Linked DNA regions of Homo sapiens: region 2 is linked to region 1. The links are contacts of gene promoters, found by promoter capture Hi-C in blood cells and fetal thymus (Javierre and others, 2016). All regions are on one chromosome and are shown on one strand. The core of a region is centred on a gene start or on the middle of the fragment in contact, and the rest is flanking DNA. Distances in the headings are between cores, read along the strand shown. Region 1 holds the start of INTS15 (integrator complex subunit 15). Region 2 has its middle 30 kb from the start of OCM.

What was found. The method cuts DNA at HindIII sites, captures the fragments that hold promoters and counts their contacts. A CHiCAGO score of 5 or more calls a contact.
Region 2: a fragment that was not itself captured here is called in contact with the fragment with the promoter of INTS15 in region 1 in 1 of 17 cell types (erythroblasts); the score reaches 5.0 in erythroblasts.

The regions. Positions count from the first base shown.
Region 1 is chr7:6,588,307-6,591,350 of GRCh38, reverse strand. It overlaps INTS15 (integrator complex subunit 15), which reads right to left and starts at 1,330. Exons shown (of 6, transcript NM_024067.4): 1 at 876-1,330. The coding sequence starts at 1,067. It overlaps ZDHHC4 (zDHHC palmitoyltransferase 4), which reads right to left. Exons shown (of 8, transcript NM_001134389.2): 8 at 1,977-2,734. The coding sequence ends at 2,441. LOC124901582 (a long non-coding RNA gene) reads left to right here and starts at 1,447. Exons shown (of 2, transcript XR_007060201.1): 1 at 1,447-1,891; 2 at 2,126-2,428. RefSeq lists a silencer at 1,006-1,505 and enhancers at 1,576-1,725, 1,350-2,188. The HindIII fragment of the contact is 9,756 bases long and covers 1-3,044 here.
Region 2 is chr7:5,849,049-5,852,137 of GRCh38, reverse strand. It overlaps the pseudogene ZNF815P. Among named protein-coding and RNA genes, the nearest start is that of OCM, 30 kb to the left of the region's middle. The HindIII fragment of the contact is 1,294 bases long and covers 818-2,111 here.

The DNA.
Region 1 (3,044 bases), core at 81-2,580:
AGGTTGCAGTGAGCCGAGATCGCACCACTGCACTCCAGCCTGGTGACAGAGTGAGACTCCGTCTCAAAAAAAAAAAAAAAAAGAAAAACAGGAAATAACAGTATTTTCCCGTAGAACTTTTCGCCCTTCGTAAAGTTCCCGTAGAACTTTTCGCCCTTCGTAAAGCTCAGGTCTCAGGGAGATCTTTGCTGTTGATCTTAGAAAAAAGTCATATAGGCCAGGCGTTGTGGCTCACGCCTGTAATTCCAACACTTTGGAGGCCAAGGAGAGAGAATCTTGAGCCCAGGAGTTTGAGACCAGCCTGGGTAACACAGGGAGGCCCCATCTCTACAAAACATTCAAAAATTAGCTGGGCATGGTGGTGCACGCCTGGAGTCCCAGCTACTCAGAAGGATGAGGCGGGAGGATTACTTGAGCCCAGGAGTTCAAGGTTGTAGTGAGCTGTGATTGCACCACTGCACTCCTGCCTGGGCAACGTAGTGAAACCTTGTCTCGAAAAAAAAAAAGGCAGAGAAAGAAAAAAAAAAGAAAAAGATGTAAGAAGAAAGCCATACAGATCATTATACATCCTCCTGGAGGGTTCAGGATGAGCCTTTCGGTAACAGCCCAACAGACCTCTAGGGAGCGGGCAGTCGCCAGTTTGTCCCTTTAACACCAAGACTCGGCTGTCACACGCCCCGCAGACTGGACAGGCAGCTGAGCAACACTGCAGGACCCGGAGAAGGGTTTGGGGGCTGCTGCAGGAGCGAGGCCGAGCGCGAGCGCGGGGATCCTGGACATGGGGCGCCCGCGGCTTGACACAGCCCTGCATCGCTGGGGAAAAGGCCCGCCCGCCCGCCTGCGGGGCCCGGGAACCCGACCGTCTCAGGCCGCACCTTGGGCTGCGCGCTGCGCTCCTTGGGCACCTGGAACACGAACTCCTCCAGCAGCTCCACGGGGCCCTTGTCCACGATGGGCAGCGGCGCGCTCTGCAGCTGGCTGCTGAAGTAGATGTCCAGGTGGTACAACACCTCCTTGGCGGCGCTCAGCGCATCGCGGCGCAGCAGCGAGTGGCGGATGTCGCTCATGGTGCGGCCGCCGCGGCCCCCGCGCCGAGCGCGTCTCACTTCCGCCCGGGGCCCGGGACTGCGCCGCTACCCGTGGAAACAAAGAGGCGCGACCCGGGCCTGGGCTGCGGCACCCGCCCGCTTGCCCGCCTGCCGCCGCCTGCTCCCTGCCTGCTCAGGGGGCCATCGCTGCTGCCGCCGGCCAGCAGGCGCCCGAAGGTCCGACTGCGGCGCCGCCAGGAGCCGCCGGGAGCTGCCGCCGCGCAGCCGAACAGCGGCCGAATGCCGGGCACGGAGACGGCGGCCCGCAGGGGCCAAGCGCAGGCCGCGGCCTAGGCGCGCTCTCCGGAGGGCGCCCCCTGGCGGCGCGAGCGGTGAGGGGCGCGCCGCGGTCCCAGGTGGACCCCGCCCCCGGAGCCCGCCCAACCGCCGGTGCAGGCCCGCTCCGTCCTTGCCCAGGCTCCCTCGCGGGCTGTGCGTCGCGTTCAGAGCTGCCGCTGGTTGATTTCACGGTGCTTTCCACCAGCAAGAATTGGGGGTGGTGCCGGGCTTTGGCTTCGGCCAGCGGACTTGGGTTCCCTGGCCGCCCCAGCTACCCGTCTTCACGTTTCCATCTGTTCTCAGCTGGGGGGTACGGGGGAAGATGGCTGGAAGGCCCCCTGCCCCTGACTCCCACTTCCCAGCCTCTCTGACTGCGGGCTCCTTGGCCTAGCAAGGTGCAGAACACCTGCCACCTGCACCTGAGAGCCCTCCCACTCCAAAGACCTTCCGCACCAAGACCTCGTTTCTGGCAGTCATGTCTCCTCTGAAATAGGTGGCAGTTCACTTTCACAATTTTTAAACTGGTGAGAAAGGACTTGAATGTGGCTAGAGGAGGGCAGGCCGGAGGCCACACATGCAGGAAGGTGCCTGATGTACAAGCCCATACTGGCCGGAAGGCAGGCCTGGGTGAGGACACTCTGTTGTTGAGATGAAAATCCCCTGGGGGAGAGAGGAGAATAGAGGGGGCATAAAAGAGAGCACAGCCAGGCACAACGCGCAGGCGCTGAGTCAATGAGACCCTCCTGCACATCACACAGGTCAGAGACACGGCCGCAAGCCCCTCCTGTCCACATGCCCAGAGTTTAGAGACACCAAGGTCTCAGCATCACCTAGAACCTCTGAGAAGTCATCTCTTGATCCCCTTGACACCAGGACTTCAGAGATGCCCGGTTTCAAAAGAAGACAAGCAAGGGGGATTCCTCAGTCAACACCCATTTTCCCCTCTCTCCCTTGCCCACCGAAAGTGATTTATAAGCACAGCAGAAATCAAAACAAACAAGCCATGCTTGGAAAACGAGGATCCACATGTGTAAATAAACGGGAACTACAGCTCAAAGGCAGTCATACACTTGTCATTCTTGTTTCTTCCTCTCATGACATGGAAAGGCAGGTAGAAAGATCTCTTGAAGGTTGCTCCGAAGCCCATGGGAGTGAATGTTCCGGTGGACTTGGGGCTCTGCTGACGGAGGCCAGGCCACAAGGGGACAACGCTGGCACCAGGCCCAGTCACCTCTGTACCACTCGTTAGTAGTCTGGTTGGTGGCCGCCAGATACAGGACAAACAACAGGTAGCCACCCAGGAGGAAGCTCAGAACCACGACAAAGCCCAGCATGAAGACAATCCGTGGAAAAGTCAGGAACAGGTACTAGGAGCAGAGAAAAGGTAGTGCTTTAGGCAGCTGGACTGTGACATCCATGAGAGTGAACACTGGCCAACCCTGGGCCTGCCACAGCCACCAGCGCTGCTTCCTCAGCCCACCTACTTGTGTCCAGATGTGACAAACTGAACATAAACAGCACTGAGAAGCAGCCCAGAATAATCCCAGTACATACAAGAGTTTCCTGTGGGATGAATGAAGTGTTCACACTGAAGGAAAAGGGAAAGTTTACTTAGGAAATGTGCTATTCCAGTTAGCTATTTATAAAATAAATGCAGACTTCATTCATCAATATAAA
Region 2 (3,089 bases), core at 215-2,714, 740 kb after region 1:
GCAGGCACATGCTACCACGTCCGGCTAATTTTTTTTGTAGAGACAGGGTTTCACCATGTTGCGCAGGCTGGTCTCAAACTCCTGAGCTCAAGTGATCTGCCTGTCTCGGCCTCCCAAAGTGCTGGGATTACAGGCGTGAACCACCGTGCCCAGCCAAGACATTATTCTTTTGTAAAGTAAACATAGTTGCTCTTAGCATATGGTTCTCAATTGATGGGCGTGTGTGTGTGTGTGTGTTCTCTCTGGAAAAGTTTTCTCTGGGAGAAAATTCTAGATTTCACTGTTTTACATTTCAAAGTTGCCAGTTTGTTAAAAAAATCAGGCTGAGAAGAAACATGTTAGGACAAAAATGTGAAAGACTGTCATTAAAGCAAGCAAGACCAAGGACGGAGTTTTACAGACTTTGCACAGAATTCTTGGATCAACCCATGGACGCGGTGGTTGATTTTAACAGGAGCTGCAGAGTCTAATCCCTTTCATCACAAATGCATCTGGGACCAGAGCCCGATTTCCTGCTGCCCTTGGGGGACTTTTTAACCATTTTTTTTCCCCAAGCTTAGAGTATACATCAAATCCCAGGTCCACACTGACCCCCACTCTGGGCTGGAAGGGCCTGACCTCTCCCAAGAGAGTGGGGGTGGAAGAGAAGCTGTGAAATACAAAGTCATTTGATGGATGTGACACTGGGCACAGGTTGACCATCAAGCCAGGGAGGAGGCCTTTATGCCCGAAAACCCCTGAGCCTGTTCCAGGGATGCAGTGAACCACTCCTGTACCCACCCAGGCTTGCCTAGGTGTGTTGTGTGCCAAGGAAGCTTCAGGGAAGAGAGAGGACAGAGAGAGGTTGGATGTCTAAGTGTTGTTCAGTAAAGTGAACAGAAAGCAAATGTTCCAGTCTGGGAAAGTAAAATCACATATAAGAGGAAAGCGGATTGTCATAGAAGGTCCGAGGCCCGGGCTAGGGAAGGGAAAAACCACACGCTCAAAGTCCTGGTCAAGGCGTGTCCACGTTAATGGGAGAGAAGCACCTTCCTCCACTGTGGGGCCAGGGCAGGGCCAGAGCACCAGCTGGGAGTGGATCCTACACTTTTTTTTTTTTAATTGTGGTAAAATATGCGTAACATAAAATTTGCCATTTTCGCTATTTTTGAGGGTACAATTCAGTGGCATTTATTACATCAAAAATATTGTGCAACCAGGCTGGGCATGGTGGCTCACGCCTATAACACCAGCACTTTGGGAGGCCAAGGCGGGCAGGAGGTCAGGAGTTCAAGACCAGCCTGGCCAACGTGGCAAAACCCCATCTCTACTAAAAATACAAAAATTAGCTGGACATGGTGGTGTGCACCTATAATCCCAGCTACTCAGGAGGCTGAGGCAGGAGAATTTCTTGAACCCGGGAAGTGGAGGTTGCGGTGAGCCGAGATTGCACCACTGCACTCCAGTTGGGGCGACAGAGCGAGACTCCATCTCAAAAAAAAAAAAAAGAGAAAAACAAAATATTGTACAACCATCACCATCATCCATCTCCAGCACTTTTCCATCTTCCCAAACTGAAACTGTCCCCATTAACCCTCACTCTCCATCCCCCTTACCCCCAAGCTCTGATAACCAACGTTTTACTTTTTTTCTGTCTCTTATCAGTTTGACTATTCTAGGTACCTTATATAAGTGGACTCATGCTGTGTCTACCTTTTTTTCTTAACAAGAGTTTTGCTTGTTGCCCAAACCGGAGTGCAGTGGTGCGATCTCGGCTCACTGCAACCTCTGCCTCCCAGGTTCGAGCGAAGTCTCCTGCCTCAGCCTCCCGAGTAGCTGGGACTACAGGCGTCTGCCATCACGCCCAGCTTTTTGTATTTGTAGTAGAGATGGGGTTTCACCATGTTGGGCAGGCTGGTCTCAAACTCTTGACCTCGGGTGATTCACCCTCCTCAGCCTCCCAGAATGCTGGGATTACAGCCACTGCACCCGGCCTGATTGTTCAGTTTCTCAATTGGAACATGAGTAGGGCAAGTTCAAATTCTAACTTAGATGACATGCAGGCCAGTGCACATGGACTCATCCAGGTAAAATCTTGCCCTACCCAGAGCCCAAGGACAGACAGGCAAGCTTTCTGTCTCCAGTCTGCCGTCTCCCTTGATGTACAGCCTGTGGAAAGTTCTGCGCATCTGAGTTATTTCAAGGCCAGTTCTGTCTTGTGTAGCCCCCAAGTTCTTGTTTCTTACCCTTCTATACCATTTAACATTCAAGTTCCAAGTAAACAAAAACCCATAGAACAGCTACAGCATCAACTCACAGACTTTGTTTTTCAGTACCTTCTACATAGCTGGCACCTGGATACTTATTTTCCTGAGAGCTGAATTATGTATCTAAAAGGATGTCAGCGGTTGTTGTCCGTCATGTCCAGTTGTTTTCAGTGGGTTTTCACTTCATTTCTATTGAGAGAGGGTCTCACTGTCACCCAGGCTGGTGCGCAGTGGCACGACCATGGCTCACTGTAGCCTCAAACTCCTGGGCTCAAGGGATTCTCCCACCTCAGCCTCCCAAGTACCTGGTCCTACAGGCACGTGCCACCACGCCCAGCTAATATATATATGTATTTGGTACAGACAGGGTCTCACCGTGTTGCCCAGGCTGGTCTTGAACTCCTGGGGTCAAGTGACCTGTCCACCTTGACTTTCCCAAGTGCTGAGATCACAGGCACGAGCCACTGCCCCGGTGATTTTCACTTTAGACGGTCCACCGTATTGCCAGAAAATGGAGTCCTAATATAGAAATATAACTTGTTTTGAGACAGAGTCTTGCTCTGTCGCCCAGGCTGGAATGAAGTGGCACAATCTCAGCTCACTGCAACCTCTGCCTGCTGGGCTCAAGCAATTCTCGTGCCTGAGCCTCCCAAGTAGCTGGGATTACTGGGATTACAGAAAATCACCAGCATGCTCAGCTAATTTTTATATTTTTCAGTGACGGGGTTTCACCGTGTTGGCCAGGCTGGTCTCAAACTCCTGACCTCATGTGATCTGCCTGCCTCAGCCTCCCAAAGTGTTGGGTTTACAGGTGTGAGCGACCGAGCCCAGCCAAAAATATAA